3 separate regions of the Homo sapiens genome follow, and regions 2 and 3 are each linked to region 1. The links are contacts of gene promoters, found by promoter capture Hi-C in blood cells and fetal thymus (Javierre and others, 2016). All regions are on one chromosome and are shown on one strand. Each heading gives the region's core, a stretch centred on a gene start or on the middle of the fragment in contact. The rest is flanking DNA. Distances are from core to core; before and after follow the strand shown. Region 1 holds the start of ARPC5 (actin related protein 2/3 complex subunit 5). Region 2 holds the start of TOR1AIP2 (torsin 1A interacting protein 2). Region 3 holds the start of ACBD6 (acyl-CoA binding domain containing 6).

Region 1 (4,268 bases), core at 845-3,344:
ACAGAAGATGTAATAATTCATATGTCCCTTAGGTGGCAGCTTAATTTTTTGCTTTAGATATTTTCTCTCATATTTCACAAAGGTTATTCAAACTGTGTTAGACCATACCTATTAAATTCAGGCTCTCTTTGAAAGCACTAGTGAGTTAGCAAGCATGAGAAACAGAAGGCCAATCAGACTGTCAGAATGTACAAACATTCCCCTAAAAGGAAAACCACAGAGTTCACTTGTTCCTCCAACTCTAGTACCCCACCACTAGGGCTGTCTTTCCTGGCTGTATGTAACGGTAAGAAGAGACAGTATCTTTATATTTTAAGATGAACTGATCAAAAAGCAGATCCACTGATATGGATACAGCAGTACCATTTAAAAGTCACCACAAATTACCTAAAATACACTGGGGTTTCATAAAACACCATCTATCCATCACAAATAATGTTTTTAGGAAGCATGTTCACCATTTATTTTCTAAAGAAAAAGTTCTTACACAAAATCTCTGGTTGACAAGCTGTTATTTTCAAGGCTGCAGGGATTTCTAGAGAAGCATGCCTGATGTAGATTAGCTCATTTTTTATAACTCCAAGCACTTAAGTATTTAAATAATGCAAAAGAGCAACAGCTAATTAATTGTGAAAGTTGTGGCAAAGCACTATCTATATATTGATAAATGTCTAATGCTCTATTTAGGTGCCTTTAAAAAAGGATATTGTTGCCATTAAATATTTTCACTCTCATATTTCCCCACTATAACAGGACATTGTTGAGAGTCTTCCTTATGAATACACCCAAGAATTAGAAATGCATACAAATTCAGTGTCTGAGATTTTCTAAAACTACAGCTTCGGTTTTTTTGCAACATTTACATTTTTCTAAAAAAGATGTAATGCAAATGCGAAGCCAAAGTTATGAATATTCAAATATGCAAAAACAGAAACCGGGAACTGACTGCCATATTTTAACTAAAATGGAAACAATTTTAGGATTACAAAAATGATTCTGCTTTATACGAATGACTCATCTTCTATCTTATTCATTGGGGTTTATTTTAAATATTTCCAAGGATTCTCCACACGCATTCCCCGTTGTTTTTTCTATTGTCCTTTTCTTAGCAGGTAAAAGGCTCCAAGCTTCCTTCTAGGAGTTTTGTATTTTTTGTATTCATTCCCCTCCCCCAGTTAACAAATTCTGTACAATGTATATTTTGCCAAATCCCCTTCTTCTTCTTCTTTTTTTTTTTTTTTTAAAAAGGCCAATGGGCTGAAAGCACAGGGACCCTCAATTTTCGAACAGTCCCATCTCCCCCCGCCCCCCGGTAAGGAATAAACTACCTTAACGCTACCAATAACAAAAACACAACAAAAAACAAAACCACTAAGGAAAGATGCAGGTTCCCCACAATCAGAAATTTCTGGAGCTAATGTGACCCCAGGAAATCAGAGTTCTAGGAAGAAAAACTAAGGCGCTCGGCACCAGCCTTCCCCACCAGCCGGGGCCGCCTTCCCCAGCGCCGCGAGGGCGCGGCCGGCGGGACCAGTTCCCGAGGCAGGCAGGCACTCGGGTGCAACCTGAGGAATCTGGGGGCGTGGAAGGCGCGCGGGGGAGGGCAGGCTTCCAAGAGTGGGACCCTCGCGTCTCCTGCCGACTGGGTAGGAAACGGGGGCTTCCCCCTTGCCCTCTCAGAGCGGGCGATCCCAAAGAGACAGGTTAAGCCGCAGGTTGAGAGGGCAGCTCCGCGCCGGTGCCCCGCGGATCCTGCAGGCTCCCGGGTCCCAGGAGAAGGGCGGGCTGGGCTGGGCTGGGGTGGGGAGGGCGGTGAATGCAAGGATATTGCCGCAGGCAGGAGTCCACCTCGCCCTCGTCGGGCCCGGCCTGGCCGTCGCCCCCATCTTCTTCGTCCACGAACTTGTTCTCGTCATATTCATCCACGTCCACCTTCCGGAAGCGGGCCGACGACACTGTGTTCTTCGACATCCCAATCCCGACCAGCGGCAAAGGCCTCTTCTTGGCGCTGCCTCTACCTCAGCAAGCCCAGCCCAGCAACCCACTACCCGGCGCCTGATTCACTTCCCTCTTCCGCTCTGAGGCGTCGCCGACTGCCGCGGCTCGGACCGTTCTGGGCCTGCGCGCTAGCCCCGTTTCTTCCTCCTCAGGTTCGCGCTCCCTTGGCGCCTCCCACGCTGCCCCTGCTCTTCCACGGAGAGCGCGCGCGAGGGAAGGAGCGCGCAGGACACAGCGCGCAGGCGCGGGCTCTCCGCAGGCAAGGGGCGGGGCTGGGCGAAGGAGGCGGGGGCGAGAGGGAGGGCCAAAAGCTGGACCGCGGGCAGAGGTAAGAAGCGATTGGTCGTCCGATTGCGTCACGTGATTCTCGGTGGGGGGGTTCCCATAGAAACGCTTTTCTGCGGTCCAGTCTAGGGGGTCTCAGATTGGCGGGGATGGGCAGCAGCGGCAGGTGGCCTTGGCTTTTGCTGCAGCCGTCAACGACCTATCATCGGGGTCCTGCGTAAGGTCCGGCTGGCTGGGACTTGGCTGTGGGTGGGATGGACTGGCTGCCGGACCGAGTGCCCTGCAGTTGGTAGGAGTATGAGGCAGAGTGATGCACACCCGGGCGCCCAGCATCGTTCTAATTGCCGGAGACATTGCCTCAGACTGTGCGCTGCTAGAGGCTGCGTTCCTGAGCAGGAAGCCCGTTTCCTGGGATTGGAACTACCCTTCTTGGCCAGCGGGAAGTCCCCAAGGACGGAGTCGAAAGGTCAAATCTTATCTGTCAGTGCTGTGTGACAGCATCGCAACGGGATCTGCAGAACCTGAACTCGGTATCAAATCTATTGGGAGGGAGGGGAACGTGTCCGGGCAGGCGCTGGGGTCGGGTGGCAAAACTGGGGTGAATTTGTAGAATTTGGGAAAGGGTCATTGACATCTTAAAATAGGTGGTCGTTTGGAGCAAGAATGCTCGAAAGGGGTGAGGGTAGGTTAGGCTCTCTAGTGCTGGGGGAAAACAAAATGTGGAAGGATTGGTGGAAACCAGACCTTTAAGATTTATATTATGATTTGAGATTTATATGATTCCATCTAGGCCAGATTTAAAAAAATATTTGACATCCCCATTTCTGGAATGTAGGAGATAAAGGCACTAAGACGAAGGAAATGGTAGTTGTGCTGTGTGTATTACACTGAAGAACAAATATTTGCAGGATAAAATTAATTTGGACATTTGGCTGGACACTGCTCGGTATGGGTCCAGTTTAGTTGGACCTCGAGCAGAAGACTGGCTGTTGCCCTGTTGTGTACCACAATCTTTGGTTTCCAGTGCTGTGTTGAAAAGAGCACTAGGCTTAGAATCAGAAAACTCAGGCTTAAGTGTTGACTCTTCCACTCATAATGTTTGAACGAGACATGTCACTTAAAATTCTGTCTCAGATTCCTCATCACTGAAATGGAGCTAATAATGTGCACTTTACAAGATTGTTCTTAGGATTATATATCACGAAAGTGTTTCCAAGCTCTAAAATTCTACATAAATGTAAAATGCATGTTGCTTGTACCATTGGTTTTGGGACTAGTCTTATAAATTTCTTAATGATATATGGTGTTTTATCTCCTTCCTAGAAGAGATGGAAAGATTCTGAAGGGCAGAAACAGTTTTTCTTTTGTATCTTCCTTCCATATGACAAAAAGCTAAGCATGCAGAAGGGACTCGATACATGCTTGATGAATGAATGAAATGTGAAAGACCGTACAGTTTGAGAATCATACTGAGAATAATAAATCAGAAGAGGGAGAGAGATCTCAAAATTAAATATTTGTTGGATATATACATGTAAATACATATGTCCAGTCTTCTTTAAGTTCAAAAAAATACATATATAATGTGTGTATATTTATCTATGCAGTATATTATATATAAATAGAGAGTGGGAGAGAGACCTCGAGAATGGAATACATCCCTTTTTCTTGGGAAGAAGCAATGTGGTGTTTTTCTGTTCCCAATTAAACCACTCTTCTATAAGTATATCATTTAGGTGATAGAAGTAACATTGTTTAAATTAACATTCAAGTTATGAACACACACTGGTAAAAATTCTCTTAGGAATGCCTTAAGACAGCAAAGGAAAAATTTTTACCTGTTGGCAATATTTATTTTAAAAAGCCATATACCAAAGTATAAAATCATTACTATGGTGAATGGCGTTATATAACTTAGAATAAAGATTTTACAATTTTTTTTCAGTTTCAGTCTTTGCTAACTTTAGTAGATGCTAATCAGTATA
Region 2 (4,268 bases), core at 694-3,193, 3.8 Mb before region 1:
GTGCTTGATTTCTGTGCAAAATTTATGGTAATATATGATCGCCCTATGAATTCCTTCTTGTAGGACACAGTTTAATCCAGTAGTTCATATGATGTAGAAATATTAATGAAATTTTAACACAATCAAAATTCTAAATGGTAAATAAAACAGCCAATTCTTCATTCTTTAAATTTTTTTGGAAGTTGTCGAATCTCCAAGTTTATGGGCCTTCACAGTTGACTTAGTGAACAACCTCAAAGTGATAAAGCAGACAAGGCTTTTTGAAGCAAACATTCCTTCAGGAAATTCAAGTGGCACTTCAAAGAAGTGTGGACTTTCCTGGAATAGAATTTTGACTTCTGTGTTCCATGGAAATGAATGGAATACAGAAATTACTTCTTAGGCAAAAATAAGTTATATACAAGATACAATACATTATTAAAACACCCAATAATCCTCAAATAATTAGCTACATTCTGAAGTTAATTTATTTATAAATTATTGAAGCTCTCAAGCTAGCATTACCTCTACATTAGGAAAGAAACTAGATAAAATAGTTCTTAAATGAGTCACGCAAGGTTGCGTAACAAACCAGCAGAAAAACAGGTAATCAAGTTGTGGACTGCACGTTCAGCATAATAAACATTACTGAAGACAGGCACTCAGTTTTCATAACAAATGTTAGTTTTTCAAACTATTCTAATCCACACAAAGTCTTCCAAAAACATCTGTAGTTACTCTACCATGAAGTTCCTTTTTTTATTAAATGTTTCCACTGGCCTTTTATATCCTCATCTTGTGCTCAAAAAAAAAAGCTCAAAAAACATGGATAACTGCCACAGCTTAAAACAAAGAAAGGATCTCTCATACAGATCCAAAATAAAATGTGTTAAAACCTAAAGACAGGTAAAACAAAGCCAGTATGTTTAATCTATGTAACTCATTTCTGGATCTGTGTAACAGTATAAAGTCTGATAATTAAGCATTACTCATAAAGTAGAGAGTACTATGAAATTTGTTAAAAGAAGGAAAAGGCACAAACTTTTTCATCAGGTATTAAATACAATTGGGAGAATGGTACATATATAATATGTAAGCAAAATGGTAGGAGGTCTTACTAAAACTTCAACTTTGCCCTTTTTAGCACCAATTTTTTTTTTTTTTAAGTATTATCTTTTCAGGATTAAGATTATGAATGTCGAGAACCTAGGCATGTTGGGAATGGAGTAATCGCCGCCTACACTAGTAGGCAAATTTCCCACTCACATTTCGAACCCTAAAATAATTCGGCTTCTCACCTTAAAGTCTAAACCCAAAAATTTACTCACATCTTAACCCATTTAATATTTATAAGATTCAGTTTCTTTTTATCCCAAAACAAAAATATACCCCCAACCTACCTCGTTTACTGTTTGAGTGAGGCCAGGCGTGGTGGCTCACGCCTGTAATCCCAGCACTTTGGGAGGCTGAGGTGGGAGAATCGCTTGAAGCCAGGAGTTCGAGACCAACCTGGGCAATACAGTGAGACCCTGTCGCTATAAAAATAAAAAATAAAGTAATTAGTAGGGCATGGTGGTGCGGGCCTGTAGTTCCAGCTACTTGGGAGGCTGAGGCGGGAGGATCCCTTGAGCCCAGAAGTATGAGGCTGTGGTGAGCTATGATCACGCCACTGTACTCTAGCCTCGGTGACAGGGCAAGTACCTGTCTCAAAAACAATAAAAATAAAAATACCATTTGTGCGGTACGAAGGTGGGGGTGGGGAGGGACCGTTTCTGAAAGTCCTTTTCAAAAATTCAAGATATCAGTTTCAATACTAAAACATGGAAAAGCTGCATAGTCATTTTGTTTACTTACAAATTCTGGCGAAGTTTTAAATCGTAAAACTGTTAGTATCAGGAGAGCCCTTCGAGTATTCTCTCCGCTCCACACCGCTCGGCTGCACCCAGCGGCCGCCGCGGCCCGAATGTCGTCCAGGGTCCCCGCCCATATGACAAACACTTTCCGCCGGAAGGCGCCCGTGGAATCCTGGGACTAGTAGTCTCCGTGCCCTGCCTTCTGCCTTCTCCATCCTTCACCCTCTACTGCCAGGTCGTCTGACCCAGCGACAGGCGCGGTAAATGCGCGACCAAACCGCAGAGGTCCCATGCAATCTCATGCTGACAGGATTACAGGCATCTCTGTAAGACGTCGACCACCCTGACCTGAAATTCATAGACTGAAGAAACTCATAGGACCAACACAGTGAGCAGCAGTACCAAATGATAATGGCAAGCACCATGTCCTGGAACACACCCTCTGTGCCATTAAGAGGAGCATGTAATCCAATGAGTTGCCTAATCTAAACCTCAGTTTGCTCGTGTGTCAAATGGGGACAACGTTACTTACCTCATAAGTTTGTTATTAGTAGATTAGATGACGTATGCAGCATTTCTGTTAAATGACAGTAGTGACAAAAAATAGCTGTTTTGATCTACTAATTTTATAAATGTGAAAATTAAGAGATGGCGAGCAATTTACCCAAGAACATACAATTTGTTGGGGGAAAAATGAAGTAAGTCTAAAATTCCTGTTCTTGACCTACAGCAATTCAGGACAAATCTAACCAAATTTCAAGAAGAAATCTATTCATGTAAAACTCCCTTCCCCTTTCCTCTTTTTTTTCCCATAACAGTCCTGACCAACACACTATTTTACTTATTTTGATTTTTGCCCGACTCCTCCCATAGAATATAATCTCCAAGAAGGCAGGAAACATTTTTTGTCTTTTAGTCTATTTTGTTCACTGCTGTATCCCCAGCACAGAGAACAGGGACTGCCTACTACACAGTAGCTCAAGTATTTATTGAATTAATAATTCCTCATTTAATGTGATTTTTGGTGCCTTCACTTCTCAATCACCCTCTCTTGGCAGAAGTGACAGGATTTGGTAACACTCTTGGATGGTGTTTAATAATTAACTGCAAGTCCTAATTCAACAAAAAGAATACTATATTCCATTCACTTTATTGTGTTTAATTAATTTCAGTATAACATTTCCAGGAATTTTCATTTGTATTGTCATTAAAATATTTTTCTATCATTTGTAAGACTGGGGAATAAATGGAGCCAGCTACTATGTCTTTAATTAACTTCCTCCTGTTTAATATTTTAATCATCTTTTCCTTATTAAAATTGTTTGCCTACTTCATTTGTACTACTAAGTCACAACGGATAGATTTATCTCTTTAAATAAATGAACTTCTGCTTACCCTAAAGCAAAAAGTTCCTGTACAAAAAATTTATTGTTCTAAAATGTTTCATTTAAAATAATTATTTTGGCCAGGCGTGGTGGCTCACACCTGTAATCCCAGCACTTTGGAAGGCCAAGGCGGATGGATCACCTGAGGTCAGGAGTTCAAGACCAGCCTTGCCAACATGGCAAAATCCATGTCTACTAAAAATACAAAAATTAGCTGGGCATGGTGGCAGGCACCTGTAATCCCAGCTACTCGGGAGGCTGAGGCAGGAGGATCACTTGAACCTGGAGTTGGGGGAGGCTGCAGTAAGCCGAGATTGCACCACTGCACTCCAGCCTAGGCGAAAGAGCGAGACTCCGTCTCTAAATAAATAAATTAATTAAAAATGAAATAAAATAACTGATTTAGGAACCCAGTCTCAAGAGCACAGGATTTCCAGACCTAGCCCTAATAGTTAAGTGTGTGAATTAATGCCATTTAATCTGAATTGTAATTTTTCGTGTTTCTGTCGTTCCCAATAAATGACAAATTCCCTAAAGATAGTCTTCCTCATTGCTGGCACACGTTTGATAAGTAAATGAATTATTAAGTGTATTCTTTGTTTTAATCATTTCTTTTCTTACCGGTCTTCTTTTTTGGGTCACTGAATTCCTCCAGATTTCTCAAATTCCCAAAGTAACTTTAATATCCAGAGCTGAGGCATCCTTTTTTAGTGGCCCAGCGCATCCCTTATAATATTGGCTATGACTCTACTGTCACTGTAATGTCACCTCTTTTCAGCCACTCTTATAGTCTGGATAATAGCTACAGCAGAGTATCTAGTTTCATAACAGTTTAGCTTTGCCTCAGAGCTAGTGATGAAAGTTTCGTATCTGTAAGGTTTCTAGGTGAAGGAGGCAGTCACAGTAGAGGTAGGTTTCCTTATGCTTACAACCTAGATGAGAGGGAAAATCCGATGCATATATATATGTGTGTGTGTGTGTGTGTGTGTGTGTGTGTGTTAGCATTAAAGTTACCATACCTCTAATTTTACAGTAAGTGTCTCATTAATTT
Region 3 (4,268 bases), core at 1,020-3,519, 3.1 Mb before region 1:
AGCTGTAATTTTCCTGAACTGTTATTTAACTCTTGTCAGCAATTTTTCAGGTATGTTCAAACCTAGACTCCTCAAGTACTTTAAGTCTCTTAAAGCAAATGTTGGCGGGGCGTGGTGGCTCACACCTGTAATCCCAGCACTTTGGGAGGCCAAGGCAGGCAGATCACCTAAGGTCAGGAGTTCAAGACCAGCCTGGCGAACATGATGAAACCCCGTCTCTTCTAAAAATACAAGAAATTAGTTGGGCATGGCGGCAGGCACCTGTAATCCCAGCTACTCGGGAGGCTGGGACAGGACAATCGCTTGAACCGGGGAGGTAGAGGTTGCAGTGAGCTAAGATCCAGCCACTGCACTCCAGCCTGGGCAACAGGAGCAAAACTCCATCTCAAAAAAAAAAAAAAAAAAGTGTCAGCCAGGTGCAGTGGCTCATGCCTGTAATCCCAGCACTTTGGGCAGGTGGATCGTCTGAGCTCAGGAGTTCAAGACCAGCCTGGGAAATGTGGTGAAACCCAGACCCTCTGTAAAAAAAAAAAAAAAAAAAAAAAGTGAGTGTCATGATGTTTTTGCTTCTCTGCAAAGTGTCATGATGTTTTTGCTTCTCTGCATTCTCTGTAGGCATTATACCCAAGTGTCTTGCACATAAAAGCTGCTGAACAAATATATGTTGCTTATGATAAAGCAATTATTTTCCTTCTGGTACCAACCAATGTCACCCTGAATTATAAATTAAACGTGTCTATACACCTCCCTATTTCCAGGTAAAGTTCACAGCCTTAGACTGAGTCAGGAGCTACAATCCAGTTCTGACTGATGTATTTGTATGACCCTAGGAAAGGTGCCTACTCTCTATGGCCTTCAGTTTCCTTTACTGTAAAAGAAGGGCATTATTTCCTCTGGTGTTCATAGCTCTAAAATTTTTAGATTGTATCAAACAGAAAGGAAGACATACTCAACGAAAACATAAATCAAAGATATTTAGGATTTTATAAAAATCACAATAAAAGTTGTAATACTGCATTTTGCATTGCATCACATTATTATTATTATTATTATTTGAGGTGGAGTTTCTTCGCTCTTGTTGCCCAGGCTGGAGTGCAATGGCGCACAATCTTCGCTCACCGCAACCTCCGCCTCCTCAGCCTCCCGAGTAGCTGGGATTACAGGCATGCGCCACCACGCTCGGCTAACTTAGTAGAGACGGGGTTTCTCCATGTTGGTCAGGCTGGTCTCCAACTCCCGACCTCAGGTGATCCTCCCGCCTCGGCCTCCCAAAGTGCTGGGATTACAGCCGTGAGCAACCACGCCCAGCCCTGCATCACATTATTACAATCCTATTATCTTTTTGGATCTCTATATAGTTTTATTAACTTTACCGTATTTACTTCCATGTGGCCCTCTGGGAAAGAGTAAATGAATGATATATCTTATTTTATCCTCATTTTGTAAAGGTTCTTGGGCTGGTAAAATGCAAGATCACTGAATAAGTCAGAGAAAAAAACACAAAAACAATGTCCAGTGTCCAGCTAAATAAACATCACTCCTAAGAAAGCAAACATCTTTTCCACGTTCAGGATGATGCTCATCCCCAGCAGATGGTCAAAAAAAAAAAAACAAAACAAAATACACATACACAAGCTTCATTACACCTAGCTATTAACCATACATGCTTGCTATCAGTTGTTGAGGAAGAAGGCTCCGTGTCTTTCTCCCCCATCCACCCTCTCCCTGCTACTTTACCTGTTTGTACCTGGCATACAGGTACAAGAGCTGCTCCCTGCTGGCCACCTGAATCAGGCCTTGCAGGTGCGCGGCAGCCTTCTCAAACAGCTCGGCCAGGCAACTGGTCTCCTCGATCTCAGGGCTATGGGGGAACTCCACCTCCCCGGAGTCGTCCCCTGAGCTCAGCTCTCCACCGCTGTCGCCGGTGATGGCCCCCGCGGGCAGGAATGATGAAGCCATGTCTCCTTGCTCGCTCCGTCCCTCTGTGTCCGGTCTGTCCTCCTTGGATTGGGTGTAAGGCCGGCTTGGAGGCCTGGCCCACCAGTCTGGGTCGCGAGCCTGAGCTCCAGTCGGACCCAAGCTCAGTCGCGGCGCGCTCCCTCACGTGACCCTGCTCCCTGCCCACTTCTACTCCCTGGGCGTGCAGAGCAGGCTCCTCGACCCTCTGCCGCTCTGCCCAGTCGACCCGGTCTCCTCCGGCTTCCCTCCGGCCAACAGCGCGCTCAGGCTCGCCTCAGGCCCCTCCAACGGAACAGGAGTCGAGGGGCAGTGAGGCCGGGATGCGTGCGAGCGCGGGGCGCGGCTGGCGCTGGGCCGTGGGGGCGGGGCGGCGTGCGTGCCAGCGGCGTGCGATTCTGTGAGGCCTGCTCTGCGCCGGCGGGGAAGCGCGGGCGACGCTACGCTGGACGTCCTTCCCTGCCGGAGGAGAGAAAGTGCCGTCAGCTGTAGGGGCGTCTTTTAATCGTTTCGCTGAAATTAGCAGTCCCGAGCTCCGGAGCCCGCCACCGGGATGGGCCCCCGGGGGTGGGGGAAGGAGGCCGTTTGTGTGGTAGTGTAGCGGTGAGAGCGGAGTCGCGGGAAACGCGAGGCTGAGGACTAAGGTTCCGCCTGCCCCAGATTGTGCGCCCCAAGCGCCTCCAAACAGCCCTGCGCGCGGATCTGTTGCGTGCGCGTTGGGCTCTGTGTTGAATAATGAAAAACTGCGAGATGGGGCTGTCCCGTCTTACTGTGTGACTGATGAGTGGAATCACTGCTCTGCGTGTTTCGCTCTCCACACCTTCGGAGCCCGCACCTCTCCGGGCCCTGAATAATAGGGTTTGGGGAGTTCGGGGCGCGCCTTAGCCCAGTTCTCATCCCGAGCTCTGTCTTTGACACTGTGCTTTGTAGACACTGTACAGTGAAACCAGAAGTACGGCACAGTTCGGCCCTAGAGGAATGCACAAAACTATTTTTTTAACTGTAACATTATGAGTGGTTATGTCCTAAATGTTAAACACAACGACGCACTATATATTCATTTAGTATTCAAAACAATGTAATAAGCACTATAAGAAGGGTACAAAGAAAGTGTTGTAAACAGTGGTTATTGACTGGGGTTAGGCTTGCGACGGGTGGACGGACGGCTGGACAGGATGAGGAAGCAATGAGAGAACACAGGAAGGTGAGAAAGCTTGCATCAGGATTCAACAGACATTCCTTAAGTCTCCAGAAAGTTCCACTGTTAGTCCCTGCTGTCAAGGTGCTCGCAATCCAGTCAAAGGGATGTTTAATGACCAAATTCTTGCAATTAAAAAGTGATTAAGAATAATGTATTGAGGACTTGATCATTACAACATAAGGTAGGTACTCTTATTTTACTACACATAGGAAATCAGCACAGAGTGGTTAAGTAACTTGTCAAAGGCTACACAGCTAGCAAATGGAGGAGCAAGGAAAAAGAAGTTAGCTTTCATGTGGGGTAATAATGGATGATGAACCCGACAAGTAGACTGAAGGAGATATAACATGGACTTTTATATCTTTGTTTCTAGAATTTTTATTAAAGTGAGAATTGAATATTATCAACGGCTTTTTTGGCATCTTTGGAGATTATCTGCTTTTCTCCTCTAGTCTTCGAAAGGAATTATATTAACAGTTTCTATTTTAATGAATTATATTAACAAAAATAAATTTGGGATTTAATGAATTATATAATAGCTAACATTGATAAATTAGTATGCATTATTTCAAAACCTCCTAGTTTTGAGCATTACTTCTGTTCTTGGAATAAACCCATTCTGGTCCTGGTTTGGTTTTTTTAAAAAATTTGTAGGTTCAGTTTGCTAATATTTTCATTATCTTTACAGTTCCATTTAAAGATGTCATTAACCTATAGTTTTCCTTTTCTATACTTTCTCAATTTTGTATCAAGGTAATAGAATCCTTGTAGAATGCATTTAGAAGTTTTCATCTTTTTCTGTATTCTGGAAGAGTTTACATAACATGGGAAAGAGAGCAACCAGAATTCTTTTACACTGCTGGTGTGAGCATAAATTGGTACAATCACTGTGGAAAAATGTTTGGCACTATCTACTAAAGCTGAACATAAATATACAACAATTCGACTCCTCCCCAGCGGGAATATATACATGGCATTCACCAAAAACATGTACGAGAACATTCATAGCAGCACTATGAACTAATTCCTAATTGCTCCAAACTGGAAGCTCCTGAATGTCCATCAACACTAGAATGGAGATAAACTGGTGTGCTTACATGATGGAATACTA

What was found. The method cuts DNA at HindIII sites, captures the fragments that hold promoters and counts their contacts. A CHiCAGO score of 5 or more calls a contact.
Region 2: the fragment with the promoter of TOR1AIP2 here is called in contact with the fragment with the promoter of ARPC5 in region 1 in 1 of 17 cell types (fetal thymus); the score reaches 6.2 in fetal thymus.
Region 3: a contact is called between the fragment with the promoter of ACBD6 here and the fragment with the promoter of ARPC5 in region 1, in 4 of 17 cell types (activated CD4 T cells, total CD4 T cells, non-activated CD4 T cells and 1 more). The highest score is 7.7, in activated CD4 T cells.

What each region holds. Positions count from the first base shown.
Region 1 is chr1:183,633,689-183,637,956 of GRCh38, forward strand. ARPC5 (actin related protein 2/3 complex subunit 5) reads right to left here and starts at 2,095. Exons shown (of 4, transcript NM_005717.4): 1 at 1,829-2,095. The coding sequence starts at 1,971. It also overlaps a transcript of RGL1 not described here. RefSeq lists enhancers at 1,291-1,791, 1,789-2,068 and silencers at 1,379-1,597, 1,549-1,608, 1,689-1,738, 2,219-2,378. The HindIII fragment of the contact is 3,712 bases long and covers 1,126-4,268 here.
Region 2 is chr1:179,875,860-179,880,127 of GRCh38, forward strand. TOR1AIP2 (torsin 1A interacting protein 2) reads right to left here and starts at 1,944. Exons shown (of 7, transcript NM_001199260.2): 1 at 1,834-1,944; 2 at 1,380-1,514. RefSeq lists an enhancer at 1,919-2,278. The HindIII fragment of the contact is 9,006 bases long and covers 1-4,268 here.
Region 3 is chr1:180,500,308-180,504,575 of GRCh38, forward strand. ACBD6 (acyl-CoA binding domain containing 6) reads right to left here and starts at 2,270. Exons shown (of 8, transcript NM_032360.4): 1 at 1,738-2,270. The coding sequence starts at 1,959. RefSeq lists enhancers at 677-1,192, 1,193-1,708, 1,816-2,316, 1,838-2,027 and a silencer at 2,238-2,337. The HindIII fragment of the contact is 1,534 bases long and covers 1,634-3,167 here.